Regions from separate parts of the Homo sapiens genome. Here all the other regions are linked to region 2. Evidence: promoter capture Hi-C in 16 types of primary human blood cells and fetal thymus (Javierre and others, 2016). All regions are on one chromosome and are shown on one strand. Each heading gives the region's core, a stretch centred on a gene start or on the middle of the fragment in contact. The rest is flanking DNA. Distances are from core to core; before and after follow the strand shown. Region 1 holds the start of AP1AR (adaptor related protein complex 1 associated regulatory protein). Region 2 holds the start of TBCK (TBC1 domain containing kinase). Region 3 holds the start of FAM241A (family with sequence similarity 241 member A). Region 4 overlaps TIFA (TRAF interacting protein with forkhead associated domain). Region 5 holds the start of MIR367 (microRNA 367).

Region 1 (2,700 bases), core at 182-2,681, 5.9 Mb after region 2:
TTATTCTGTTGTCCACTTACATAAATTTATCAATTCTGAGATGTTACATAATGGAATTACACAGTATATAAGCATTTGAGATTGGCTTTTTCTTTAACCATAATTTCCTACAGATTCATTTCAGGGTGTGTTCATCAATACTGTGTTCCTATTTGTTACTAAATATTCCATAGGATAGATGTACCAGTTTCTGTAAACATTTATAGTTGAATTTTAATGATTATTTCATTAATACATTTGTCTAATTTCAGGGGTTGGAAGGAGAAAAGAAAATGCTTTCACTAGGAAGTCATTCGGTCATCCCAACATTCACTGAAAGCAAACCATTGGGACAAATGTTATCCTATGCTTCTGATTACAAAACAACTAAAACCCAAATAAAATAAACATTAGTAAGTAGCAGTGCTAAGATTGAAACCAGATACGTATTTAAAGAAGCAAGAAAATGAGTTCAGAGAACATTTTATCATCAATAAAAACTTTCTAAAATGTAACAATTTTTCTAGGTTTAATTAAACAGGCTAAAAACTTGATGTGTCCAGTCCATGAGAGCATCCTCCTATCCACTGGACGAGGTGTCTACTAAACCACATCTTATATCTATTGTGAGGCCAACTGTCTTGAGGCCAAACAAGACGCGAATTATATGGTAGCACTTGAGAGGGCTGCGGACACATTAGAGCAGCTTTCTCTTCCCATCTACAGCAGTTCTGGGCAGCATGCTTGGAATGGCAACGCTGACGTCCCCGAAAAACCCCAGCCCTCTTGCCAATTTCCTCTGAACCCCAACTACCCAACCCAAAATTATGTGAAGATCTGATTTTCAAACAAAACGAGGACAATAATGCACCATTATTACGTTTCCCTAAAACATTAACAGTATGGAAATTAAGACACAAACCAGAGACCGGAAAAAAATCTTGGTGCGTTCAAAGTAACCTCAATCAGTTCCCGAGTCTATTTTCCGCTTATGGTGCAGTATTAACAAAAACTAAGCACACCGTGCAGAGAAACGCCCCTTCGCACTTATGACTTCCGGCCTGGGACTCTGGCTCCTCACACGCCTTTGATACAAAGTTCGAAGGCTGAGCCTTAGCCATGCCACGCCCAGCGTGCTCCGGACGAGGATGCCCGAAACTGCAATGAGAGAGGGAAATTTCCTAGTCAGGTCAAGGTCCAACAAAACAAACGTCCGCACGCAGGAATTGAACCGTCTCGCAGGCAGAGGCGGCTGAACCAGGAGCGAGCGGAAGTGACGCACAGGCCGGTCGCCAGAGAAGGCGGGGCACCGAGGTAGCGCGCCCAATTGGGGCGCGGGAGAGGCCGGGGGTGTGGCAGCGTTGGCGGCGAGCAGGGGCCTGGGCGCGCTGGGGGCGGGGCCAGGGTGCTCGGCTCGCGGGGACTGGCCTCCTTCGGCAGCTGGAGGCGGTCACTCACGCTGGGCTAGGAGCTGAGGCGAGAAGGGCCATGCGGACGGCGAGGGAGTCCAGAGCCTTGAGCCCGGTGCTCCTCCCTCGCGCAGCGGTGGCTCTGCGGCCGCTGGAGTAAACACTGCCTTTGTTCCCTAGCGCCTCGTCTTTCGTCGCCCCGTGCCCTCACGCCGCCGGGCTCTGGCCGGCCCGCCCTCGGTCCTTGAACCCCATTTCGGCTCGTGCCGTGCGGATGCAGCTGCCGGGCCTGGGTTTGGGCATTGAGCGGGAGGAGGAGGAGGAGCGGCGGCGCCTGGGCGGCATGCGATGGGGAACTGCTGCTGGACGCAGTGCTTCGGACTGCTTCGCAAGGAAGCGGGGCGGCTGCAGCGAGTAGGCGGCGGCGGAGGGTAAGCCCGCTGGGGGAGGGGCCCGGCCCCCGTGGCTCCTCCTCTTCGGCCCCCGGCGGGGAATCCCTTTCACCGTCCCCCGGCGGCTGGAGGTGGCGGTCGAGAGCCCTGCTACACTCACTGCTTAGCAGACGTCAGACTGGTGGTCGTCTTGGAGGCCCAGTCTGGGGTCCGGTCTTGGGGCCTCCTCGGAAAGAGGTAGAAGAGGGGGCGGGGTGTCCCTCCTGCCAGGGCGCCCTGTCACGCGGGGAAGGAGTCACGGGAGACATCATCTCCAGGAAACAAGGGGTAGCTTCGCGCTAATGGGCTGTAGGACCGGCTCCACGGCAACCTGGACACACCCTGCGCTGAGCTTAGGTTTAACGCCAAAGCTAGTATCCCTGTATCTGACCCTCTCTTTAGCCCTGGCAGAGCAGGTGGGATCTGGCTCCGGAGTTAATGCCTCAGATTGATTTTAAGTAGAAGTCATTTGGATGCTGGAGTAAAATAAGGTTCCAGATACTGATGAACTCTGGTAGCTACAAAGACTTGCTGAATTGCAGAGTTCCCAATGGGCATTCAGATTCTTGGTGCTCATAACTACAGGGACAATGTGTAATTTTTTCGTATTAAGTTTTTGAAATTTCGAGAGGAATTCCTTGCCCTGATTGCTACTCAAACGTCCTGTAACATTAGGTAAATTGCAGTCCTTCTGAACTTCACTTCTCTTGAGTAAACCTGGGATATTGCTTAGGTTTTGTATATGCACCATCCACAGAATAGTAATTTCATAATTCCGTTTTTGTGTTTTTTTATTTCATATATATTGAAAAAATTAGAGCAAATTCCTTTGGGGTTGGCTTTGTTGTTATTAAATGTCCCTCCGGAATTCAAACCTAGAA
Region 2 (2,700 bases), core at 111-2,610:
TCCTGACCTCAGGTGATCCACCCGCCTCGACCTCCCAAAGTGCTAGGACTACAGGCGTGAGCCACCGCGCCCGACCATTTTATTTTCAATCAGATGTCTTTATCATCACATAGCTGAAAATAAAATAACCAAATAAAACACAATGATCGAAAAAGATAAAACACTAATTAGCATAATCAGTGTTCTTTTTCCACTACCTCTTAAATGGTTGTACATAAAAAGGCTCACACACAAAAATACACACACATACATTCACTTACACCTCGTGAGTGGAAGAAAACTACCGGGGGAAAAAAAACGTAGAGATGAGAGATTAGATGAGGGAAACAGCAGTGCAAGCAGTTGGGCTTGAAAATTCATTCATTCAACAAATATTTTGAAGCCCCTATTTTAAGTCAGTTGTTTTTCCAGCTGGTGGGCAAAGGATAATGAACAAGTCAGACTCTGTGCCCTCAAAGAACTTAGAGTTTTAAACGACTCGAATGGGGAAAGAAAGTAAAAAATAGGGCAAAAGACGCCGATTTTATCATGAATAAAATTTCACATTTCTTCAACAGGAAAATGATACTAATTCATTTATTTTATATATACATTCTCTCAAGAGGTTATTTTTGTCTCAAATAGATAGAAACCAGGACAGGGATCCTTGAAAAGCAGCCACTGACAATCCTCAAGTAACTTCCTTCCTCTGCTTCACTTTCTCCTACTGCTCAAGGGGGTGTTACACTTTGACGACTGACTAAACCTCGAGGGCCAGAAACAAACCAAAGCAAAATTCTGCCTCCAAGGTGAGTAATGGAGGGGCGGATTCTAGATTCTCTAACCTCCTTTAGCCTTCCTTTGAGGCAGTGACAGAGCGATTACTAAGCCTACGGTTCCCAAACGACTCAGGTGAACCTGATTTACAGGAAAGGCGGGCTGTAGCTAGGGATGGAGACAGTACCTATCAGCAAGCGGCTCCACAGCTCGGTTCTCTATCTATTCTGAAGACATGCGGGGCCACTCACTGCTCCTGATAGTCCTCTACCTCCCACAGACCCCACCCACTACGACACGGAAAACTGGATTACCCAAATACCTGCCTCTGAGTCTGGGGACGCAGGCAAGCACAAAGACAAGGGGGATGGAGCTTCTACACAGGGCCCCAGCGCTGTCGCTGTGGCTGCTGCTGCCGCTACGGCTTAGTGCACCAGACGCTGCATTTCAGGTGCTCCTACAAAAGAGGCCACTCCTGGAACGCCGGGAGCTCAGACGCTGCCCTTTGCTCGCGAGCCAAGTCAGCCAAGGTTAACCTTCGCGGAACCCGGCGAGGAGCGCAAGCCTGGCCTTCCCCAAACACAGATCCGAGCTTTTCACCCTCTACCCTCCCCTCAGCCTGGCCTTTTCTTCCGCCCTCACAGCCACCGCGACCCAACGCTGAGGAAAGACCCCGACTTGTGGTGTCCTTCCCCTTGCCCAAACTGGCCACGAAAGGACATATAGCGAGAGAGAAAGAGGTGCGGGGGGACGGGGGGGGTCGATTGAAAATACTGGGTGAGGGAATGGAAGACGAGGAGCGTGGTATGGCAGGTTAATGGGACTGAGCACAGGAAGAGGAAGAAAGAATTGAGGGTTGAATCTGTAGAACACTCAGGCTTTCAGCAAGGACACCTCATTGGGTCCTTTCTCACTGCTATAGTACGCGGGTGGCTGGACCTACATGCTTCCTGCTGTGGCTGTCTCGGAACCCGTGGTCCTCCGCTTCATGTGAGTGACGTCGTGGCGGGTCACTCACTCGGGGATCGCCGATTGCGATCGTAGGGGTCTTCCTTCTCTAACTTGCCTCCAGGAGAGAGGACCTGGCCTGCGCTGCTAATGGGTAGTCCGTTCGCAGCAGGACCAGCCCTGGCCTAAGGAAACAGGAAAGAGTTTGAGACTTCCTTCTAAAGGAGCCACGTTTGAGAAATGGGATGCAGGCCTAAGTTAAGAATGCTACAGAAAAATATCGATCCCTAAGCGTATTTACTGTTATGTGAATGTGTGTGTCAAAGGACTTAGGTGCTTTGGGGGAGAGGAGGGTGAAGACAGGAATTTATTCATTGAGCGAATAGTTATTAAGCGCCCACTCTATTCCAGACACCGTTCTAGGCATTAGGTGAACAGCAGTGAACAAAACAGACGGAAATCTGTGTCTACTTGTAGCTCACATTTTAGAGAGGAAGGCACATACTAAGCAAAGTAATTAGAAACATACTGTATTTTAGGTCGTGATAGTCCTGAAGAGAAACGTAAAGCAGGGAAGAAGGGTATAAAGTGACACAGGAAGGTCTTGCTGAAAAGATGACTTTTAAGTAAAGGGCTGACAGAAGTGGGAGATTTAACCACGCGAATATCTTGGGAAAGTGCAGTCAGACAGAGGGACCAGCCATTGCAGAGGTCATGAAGCAGAAACGTGCTAGAATAGCAAGGAGGCCTGTAGGGCAGAGTTGAGTGAAGGGTTTAGTCCTTCACTGGAGATTAAATCAAGGCGAGCAGGTCATGAAGATCTTGAGGACATCTAACTTTTATTCTAAATGAAATAGGACTTTGGAGCGTTTTGAGCAGTAGAGTGATGGGCTCTGACTTCCTTTTAAGAGGGTCACTCTTTAAGGAAAATACACAGAGGAGGACGTGGTAGGAGAAAGGAGACCAATAAGAAGAGTTTTGCAATAATCCAGAGGA
Region 3 (2,700 bases), core at 112-2,611, 5.8 Mb after region 2:
TTGGCCCCTCCCCTGTACGGCTCCGCCCCGACGGCCGGGGGTTGGGCGAGCCAGTGACAGGAGGGGCCGGGCTGGTACTTCAGGCGCCCAGGCCGGCGGGGCGCGCTCCGGCGGCTCCTGTCAGCGGCGGGTGCGGCGGATCCCAGGGCAGCCTTCGGGCGGCGGCGCTGCCTGGTGCGTCGCGGCGTGGTCCTCCGGCGGCTGTCCGGGGCGGTAGGAGTTGGCTGCGGGATGTGCTCAGCCGGGGAGCTGCTGCGGGGCGGCGACGGCGGGGAACGCGACGAGGACGGGGACGCGCTGGCGGAGCGGGAGGCGGCAGGGACCGGGTGGGATCCCGGGGCGAGCCCGCGGCGGCGCGGACAGCGGCCGAAGGAGAGCGAGCAGGTGAGCGCGGGGAGGGGCGGCGGCGAAGCGGCCGGGTCGGGGGCCGCGAGCCCCGCCCGGCGTTGGAGGGAAGGGGCCCGGCCCGCGGGCCGCGCCGCAGCTCTGCCCCGCGTGGGCACTGGCTCCCCGGCGCTCTGGGAAGTCGTCGCCGGGAGCGGTTAGACGGCGCTCCCAGGAGGAGCGGCGGGGTCGCGCGAGTGCAGACGCCAGCGCCGGCCCCGGGGTCGCGTGTCTGGCGGGGTCAGCGTGGTTCGTCCCCTGGCGTCCGGCAGAGGATTCTCAGGCTGGCGCCCAGGGCTCGGAGGAAATGCCCTCCATAGCGGTGATTTATTTAAAAGCCTCACTTGTAAACACTTCTTTTTCAACTTCGAGTCCGTGCCCTGCGCCAGGTTTAGGAGACGCCGGCTCCCCTCCCGCCCTCCATCTTGCGTTTCCGAGCCCACACCTAGCGTGTCTGGAAGGTGTGGGTGGATTCCGTCCACGGGCAGCGCTGAAAGCATGAGTAGGAGCGGGTGTTACAATGAATGTCTTGACAGGGACTCTCCCAGAGCACGTTCTTCATAAATACAGATGAGATCAAAGCTTCAGTTAAAAAGTGGAGAGGCAAGAATATTGCTTTCGGTTATAAGAGGCCAGCCATAGTAAGGGAAAAGAGAAGTTGCGTAATTTTTTAAACTCTCTGAGTTTATCTCATTTAAATAAAGTGTGATAATGGGCATTATAACATCAAATATCTTAAAGATTAGGCAAAAGGTTTAATTTTAAAAATTGAATTGTATGTTGGATGAATTTTCTACAGCAAATACAGTATTTAGACTTTCCAAATACCTGAGGTAAGCCGCTCTTTAGACTCACATTAAGGAGCAGGAATTCAAATGATTATTGGCCTTTATTACAGCCTGTACTGTTAGGACAATTAATACCTGTCTCTCCTCATCTTTCTTCATCTGTCCTTTCTGTCACGTTTCACAAATTCCAGTATCATCACTAAATGCATTAATAGATGTATACCTTACATTGTTTCAATAGGTTACTTAGGAAACAGAGTAATACTGTGTGGCACACAAAATATGCCTTAGCGTTAGGTTTGATCACCACGTGGAGTGTAATTTTTCATCTGTGACAATATAAGAGAAAGTGACTCAAGCAAATAATTTGGTAGCTTGTTCTTCGGATTCCCTTCCTAGTGGTTTTTCCCGTTAACTATTCATTTGCTCAAGGGCTTGATTTCCTCTAACTTAAATTGCTTAACTGGAAAAGTGAAGAAGACAGCACAAGAATTCCTTTGGGGGTGGGGAGGGGTTGCATTTGAGCAGGGGTTTCCAAAGTAAATTTTCAAATAGTTGTAAGGGAGCATATAAAAATACTTCATTTAAGCTTCTGTGTACTTCATTAGTATGATTATGTAGACATCACTAATAGTTGTGGTCTTTCCAAAATTGCTTATGGTACAAAGTAAAAGGATAAAACAAAAAATGAAAAGTACATCTTAGAAAACATATCACTTTGCATACCTGCCTCCTTCATTGAATGTCATGAAAGTTCATTCTCCTGTACTCCTTTGAAGTGTTATTTTTATCATTCTGTTTTTGCCTCAAGATTTATTAATGTATTCTAAGCCCCCATACACAATAATTGAAAATCACACCGGAGATAGGCATTTCCTACTACATTAGCACCAAAGAAGAATTAGTCAAGAAGACAAAAATAAGCAAAAAATTGGTGCAACCCAACCCATTGTTGTAAAAAGCAAGCTTTTCTGATAAAACGTTTCTTGGTAATGTTATCACAAAGCCTTGTTTTCTAGTTTTTTTCAAGTTCTGTAAATGAAATTATGCATTGCCATGTAATGATGGTAGAAATAGTATTACATGTGTAAAGATATTTGAGGAAGAAATGAAATTAACAACTATGGAACATATCCCAAGGACTCATTTTATTTAGTTTTTATTTAGGGAGATGATTTTTGTTTGTCCTGTTGGTTGGTTTAAGGATACAAGGACTCCAGATTACAAATGGAATATTTTTGAAAGATTGGTTTCTAAGTTAATGATTTAGAACTTAAGGTGAACTTTTCCATGAAAACAATGATATAAACAGGAACAGAACCAAAACTAATTAGCTGGAAATGAGACAGAGGCCATCTTCCTGCCGTCTTTTCTACTTGGCACGCTCACTTCGTGTTCCGGAGTCATGGATAGCCTCATGGGTATTGAGAGGAAATTAGAGGCAGGAGCTAGCAGAGGCGCTCCTTTTAACCCAGAAAAGAGCTATGGTTGTATGCTCTTGAACACCATAGCTCCAGAGGCACCTGAC
Region 4 (2,700 bases), core at 168-2,667, 6.0 Mb after region 2:
TGATGAATCTCTGGGTTCACAATTGTGACTCCATCCAACAAACACTGAGGCAGACTGCTTTAGTGTCAAATATTTGCTACCCCATCCTTGCAGGCCTGTCCCTACCAGTTCTGCCCCTTTAAAATGATGATCCACTTCATTAACAACCATGTCAATGAAACATGAATGGCAGTGACTTACTTCCAAGCAGAAACTTAAAAGCCACTGTGTAGTTCCACCTTCCCTCTTTCTTTTGTCAAAACATCAGCAGTTCCCACAAGGAGCAGCTCAGTCTGGGTCCCAGAGGGAAGAGCCGAAGACAGATACATAAAGGACAGTTAATATTAGCAAAAAAACCAACCCTTCTTCCAATAAGCCACTGAGATTTTTTAGGTCATTTGTTACTGCACTATATCAGAGCCTGAGCTGATGGATGCATTCACCTATCTTATGAAGGTATAAAACCACAGCAAACTCTGACAGTGATATGGTTTGGCTGTGTCCCCACCCCAATCTCATCTTGAATTATAGCTCCCACGAGTCCCACATGTTGTGGAAGGGACCTGATAGGAGGTAATTGAATCATGGGGATAGGTCTTTCCCATGCTGTTCTTGTGATAGTGAATAAGTATCACAAGATCTGATGGTTTTATAAGGGGGAGTTTCCATGCACAGGCTCTCTCTTTGCCTGCTGCCATCCATGTAAGATGTGACTTGCTCCTCCTTGCCTTCTGCCATGATTGTGAGGCTTCCCCAGCCATGTGGAACTGTGAGTCCATTAAATCTCTTTCCTGTATAAATTACCCGGTCTCAGGTATGTCTTTATTAGCAGTGTGAGAACAAACTAATACAGACAGGAATAAGGGCTATTACTTATTTCATGCCTTTCATGTGCCAGGCAGACTGCTGATACCCTGATACACTGTAACCAAGTACCTCCACTTTTCTAAGTCATAGTTTAATTTTTTTAATTATTTTCTCTTTTCCCTGTGCCCCACTTCCTACTTAGACCTTCAGAAATGCAAATGTAACCATTCACCTTTCCTGACCAGAAATTCCCTACAGGGCAAGTATATCTAACTATGTGCTCCAAGACAACCTTAACTTTGATCTCTCCTGGAGAGTTGACAGTCGATTTGCAGACCAAAGCATGTCCCCACAGAACTCTCACCTCCAGGGGGTGGCCTCTGAACTCACACCTACTAGGAGGGCATGGTGAGAGTATGCCCACTTGGCCACTTATATAACTTATATTTCTGCCCAGGAAGGTGTCAACTCAACTGTCTGGTAGATAAAGCACCAGGGAAGCGGGGGACCCCCTGCTCTGGCTCACTTCCCACCCTACTTTATAAAAGAGGCCCACTTTCTGCTCCAAAAGTGAAGCAGCACATTCTGGGTGTGGATAAAGGCAGGACGTTTTGTGCCCCCTTCTCCAAGCTAGCTTAGGAATTCACTTTTTTTTTGTACCAGACCTCACTCTTGTTAATTGGACTCTGCATGCAGCGGGCAACTAACCTACTTTTTGGTGACAACAGGTCATCTAATCTTCAAAATAACCCTGTGAATCACTGCTTCACTGATAAGGGAGCTGAATCTCAGAGGGTTTAAAAACCAGCCCAGATCATAAATCCAATGTCAGAGACAGGACTCAAACTCCAATGCATCCTCTCTTAACCATTACAAACACTGCCTCCCTGGTTACCAGCTACTTCACAAACTTTAGCAGTTAACCTGTAGAGAAGGGGGACATAAATGTGTGTGGGCTACAACCAGCAAGGCACCAAACAAGAATCTAATACTGGGGAGGGAAATACACCATTAGTGCTACCTCATAGGAGGAACAGGCTCTGAAGCACCAGGTTACGGTGAATATCAGTAACCTGGGTATCAGTAAGCCTGGGTGTATAAATGTTAGCATGGACCTAGTACTCATCGGTAATTGTGGCAGGTTGTTTGGAGACCATGTTGATCTCTGACCTCAAGGAACTTAGAAATGAATCTATTTGTTTATCCTCAAAGCCACAGAGTCCCTCTACAAAGTGACCTGAACACTCTGACATTTCAGAGTGGTCAGCAGAAAAACAGGAAAGACAGAAGCTGACAATTAAAATAATATAGTTAAAATTGTTAGATTTTAAAAAATCATTGGTGCACATTTGCTCAAAACAGCATTTTGAAATCTGTTAGTCGTAAGTTATCAAAGAAACAGGGCAACAATGATTTTATATAGTGATAACAATGGTTACCTCTGGAGACAGAAACTGGGGGCCCAGGATAGGAAGGAGACTTACTCTCCACTGCACACACACTCTACACCTTTGGAATTTTATACCATGTGCACTTCAATATCTATTCAAACACTTAACAAATATTTTCCTTACAAAATCACCAACCTCTGATTTTTATGGAATTGACAGTGGTTGGAGATTAGCAAAGTATTATTAAAGGGGTAAACTGTGATATCTGACATGGAAAAGTTGTAAAACACTGATTAATATCTGACAAACAATAATATCTGTGTTAACAAAGGAAATACAATAAATATAGAAATAAAAATAAGCACTGCAGTTGGGAACTCTGTCTCTGAAAGCTGAATACAGAAGGCATAGATGCTGCATCTTGAGTGTCCAGCTCTTCTGTGCTGGACATCAGGATGTATACACTTAACCTGGGAGGCTTAGAGTTGGGAAGAGAAGAGTTAGATCGAGGGCAAGGCTTCTG
Region 5 (2,700 bases), core at 144-2,643, 6.3 Mb after region 2:
ATGGGGTCCCACCATGTTGCCCAGGCTGGTCTTGAGCTCCTGAGCTCAAGAGATTTACCTTCACCCCTGAATTGCTGAGATAAGAAGCATTGAGCCACCATCCCCAGTTGCTAAATTTCAAATAGCCAACCTTGTGCTTGTTTCTAATAGGATGGGATCCAGATGTCCTCTTTGAATGTCTGGGTATTGCTAATAATTTGTGTTCAAATCTTAATCTGCAGTTACATACACTAAAATGTGTCATTTTAGGTCGCCAAATATGCAATGCCATTTAGACCCTCATACAGTTTTTTTTTGTTTGTTTTGTTTGAGTCTCTTTCTCCCAGGCTGGAGTGATCTCAGCTCACTGCAACCTCTGCCTCCTGGGTTCAAGCGATTCTCCTACCTCACTCTCGAGTAGCTGGGATTACAGGCGTGCACCACTACACCCAGCTAATTCTTTGTATTTTTAGTAGAGATGGGGTTTCACTATGTTGGCCAGGCTGGTCTTGAACTCCCCCATCCACCCGCCTTGGCCTCCCAAAGTACTAGGATTACAGGCATGAGCCACCGAGCCTGAGGGCCTGAGGGGCAGGTTAAATTGTACCAAATTGAATTAATCCTGCTGATACACTAACATATTAACTTTTTCATTTTCTTTAGATGTTGATATATCACTACTTGTGTCTTTTAACAAAATGAAAAAATTGACTACTGATGGGAAGTTAATTGCCAGAGCATTGAGAAGTTCAGCTGTTGTAGAGGTAAGAATCAAGAATAACTACTGTTTATATTTATAGTTTATAATTATAAAGAATGTTAACGTAATGATTATTATATGATTATAGCTTACAATTATAAATAATATTAGTTTTATTAATGTAATATACTATTTTAAAGCTTGATTTGGAAGGCACCAGAATCCGGAGGAAAAAACCTCTGGGGGAAAGACCAAAGGATGAGGATGAACGCACAGTGTATGTGGTAAGCTTAAGAACCCGGGTCCCCAGTCAGAAACTGGCACAGAAACAATATAATTAAGTTAAAAATTTATTGACATTCTGATTGTGAAAAACTCTAATATTGCTTTTAATTTATAATAGGAGTTACTTCCCAAAAATGTTAATCACAGCTGGATTGAAAGAGTATTTGGGAAATGTGGCAATGTTGTTTATATAAGTATACCACATTATAAGTCTACTGGAGATCCAAAGGGATTTGCGTTTGTGGAATTTGAAACAAAAGAACAAGCAGCAAAAGCAATTGAGGTAAGTCCAGATCCTAAAAAAAAAAAAAGAAAGAAAAGAAAACAAGTATTAAAATAGTAACTTTTGCAATCATTTCAGTTTCTTAACAACCCACCAGAAGAAGCACCAAGAAAACCTGGCATATTTCCTAAAACAGTGAAAAATAAGCCCATTCCAGCCTTAAGAGTTGTGGGTGAGTATTTTTCAATATTTAAATAGGTGTAGTTGAAGTAAGATGAACTAATAATGATGGCACTTTTACAGAAGAGAAGAAAAAGAAAAAGAAGAAGAAAGGCCGAATGAAAAAGGAAGACAATATCCAAGCCAAAGAAGAAAACATGGACACAAGCAACACCAGCATCAGTAAAATGAAAAGATCCAGACCCACATCTGAGGGCTCTGACATTGAGTCCACTGAACCCCAAAAGCAGTGCTCAAAGAAAAAGAAAAAACGGGACAGAGTTGAAGCATCTAGCTTACCTGAAGTCAGAACAGGGAAGAGGAAGAGAAGCAGCTCTGAAGATGCAGAATCCCTAGCTCCCCGATCAAAAGTAAAGAAAATTATTCAGAAAGACATCATTAAGGAAGCATCAGAAGCTTCCAAGGAAAATAGAGGTAAAACTACAAGGTTTTAATTAGATAAAACTAATTAATTTTAATTAATTAGTTTTTAATTAATTAGGTTTTAATTGGCTTCTGTTTCACCCATTTCACAGCCCCATGTCTTAACGGAGAGCTTTTTTATTTATTTCAAGATATAGAAATCTCTACTGAAGAGGAAAAGGATACTGGAGATCTAAAAGATAGCTCTCTCTTGAAAACAAAAAGGAAACATAAGAAAAAACATAAAGAGAGACATAAAATGGGAGAAGAAGTTATACCATTAAGAGTGCTATCAAAGTAAGTCTGTGGTTTAAATTCTGTCATTGGCTTAACAATCCATCACCATTGCTAAAGTGCAATTCCAATTTATATTCAACAGAGTTGCATATTAGCAACAGTAATGGCCTGTAGCCAAGAACTGCACACAGTGTGGGCGTTAACGCAATTGCTGATTAGGTAGGAACCACCACACTCAAACATGGAAGCACTTATTTTTGTCATGTCACAGCAAGTGCCTCCATGTTAAAGTAGAGGGGGCCCCTTAACAGATGTAAAAATACAAAATAAAGCTTAAATATATGAGCTGCGGTCAATACAATAAAGTTATTTTCTAAAAAAATAATAAAAATGTAAAAGGAAGACTTACCATCACCAAAACATGGAAGCACTTACTTCTTTAGTTTCAAAGCAAGTACATCCACGTTTAAGTGGTGGGGAGCCCAGTCTTGGAAAAAGTTAGAATCCTTTAACCTGTAACAAGCTTAGTAACCTTAAAACACAATAACAAAAAAATTTTGTAACAAAAGGTGTGCTGGCTTGGAGACACCTCCACTGAAACATGGAAGCACTTACTTTTGTTTCACACAGCAGG

The links. The method cuts DNA at HindIII sites, captures the fragments that hold promoters and counts their contacts. A CHiCAGO score of 5 or more calls a contact.
Region 1: the fragment with the promoter of AP1AR here is called in contact with the fragment with the promoter of TBCK in region 2 in 2 of 17 cell types (total CD4 T cells and activated CD4 T cells); the score reaches 7.0 in total CD4 T cells.
Region 3: a fragment that was not itself captured here is called in contact with the fragment with the promoter of TBCK in region 2 in 1 of 17 cell types (naive CD4 T cells); the score reaches 5.7 in naive CD4 T cells.
Region 4: a fragment that was not itself captured here is called in contact with the fragment with the promoter of TBCK in region 2 in 2 of 17 cell types (total CD4 T cells and naive CD8 T cells); the score reaches 7.1 in total CD4 T cells.
Region 5: a contact is called between a fragment that was not itself captured here and the fragment with the promoter of TBCK in region 2, in 2 of 17 cell types (naive CD4 T cells and non-activated CD4 T cells). The highest score is 6.3, in naive CD4 T cells.

The regions. Positions count from the first base shown.
Region 1 is chr4:112,230,356-112,233,055 of GRCh38, forward strand. It overlaps AP1AR (adaptor related protein complex 1 associated regulatory protein), which reads left to right and starts at 1,432. Exons shown (of 10, transcript NM_018569.6): 1 at 1,432-1,819. The coding sequence starts at 1,737. AP1AR-DT (AP1AR divergent transcript) reads right to left here and starts at 1,795. Exons shown (of 1, transcript NR_186684.1): 1 at 1-1,795. RefSeq lists enhancers at 1,205-2,152, 2,177-2,226 and silencers at 1,257-1,536, 1,697-1,966. The HindIII fragment of the contact is 11,290 bases long and covers 1-2,700 here.
Region 2 is chr4:106,314,849-106,317,548 of GRCh38, forward strand. TBCK (TBC1 domain containing kinase) reads right to left here and starts at 1,361. Exons shown (of 26, transcript NM_001163435.3): 1 at 1,083-1,361. AIMP1 (aminoacyl tRNA synthetase complex interacting multifunctional protein 1) reads left to right here and starts at 1,702. Exons shown (of 7, transcript NM_001142416.2): 1 at 1,702-1,746. RefSeq lists enhancers at 941-1,030, 1,111-1,170, 1,661-1,910. The HindIII fragment of the contact is 5,300 bases long and covers 1-2,700 here.
Region 3 is chr4:112,145,350-112,148,049 of GRCh38, forward strand. It overlaps FAM241A (family with sequence similarity 241 member A), which reads left to right and starts at 105. Exons shown (of 2, transcript NM_152400.3): 1 at 105-384. The coding sequence starts at 232. RefSeq lists a silencer at 1-535 and an enhancer at 876-1,015. The HindIII fragment of the contact is 795 bases long and covers 965-1,759 here.
Region 4 is chr4:112,281,501-112,284,200 of GRCh38, forward strand. The region is part of intron 1 of TIFA (TRAF interacting protein with forkhead associated domain); the gene reads right to left. Among named protein-coding and RNA genes, the nearest start is that of TIFA, 3.1 kb to the right of the region's middle. The HindIII fragment of the contact is 3,101 bases long and covers 1-2,700 here.
Region 5 is chr4:112,645,709-112,648,408 of GRCh38, forward strand. LARP7 (La ribonucleoprotein 7, transcriptional regulator) reads left to right here. Exons shown (of 13, transcript NM_016648.4): 3 at 643-743; 4 at 880-963; 5 at 1,083-1,247; 6 at 1,326-1,419; 7 at 1,491-1,841; 8 at 1,982-2,126. It overlaps MIR302CHG (miR-302/367 cluster host gene), which reads right to left. Exons shown (of 3, transcript NR_146092.1): 3 at 1,012-1,260. It overlaps MIR367 (microRNA 367), which reads right to left and starts at 2,233; the gene lies at 2,166-2,233. It overlaps MIR302D (microRNA 302d), which reads right to left and starts at 2,363; the gene lies at 2,296-2,363. It also overlaps MIR302A and MIR302C. The HindIII fragment of the contact is 855 bases long and covers 967-1,821 here.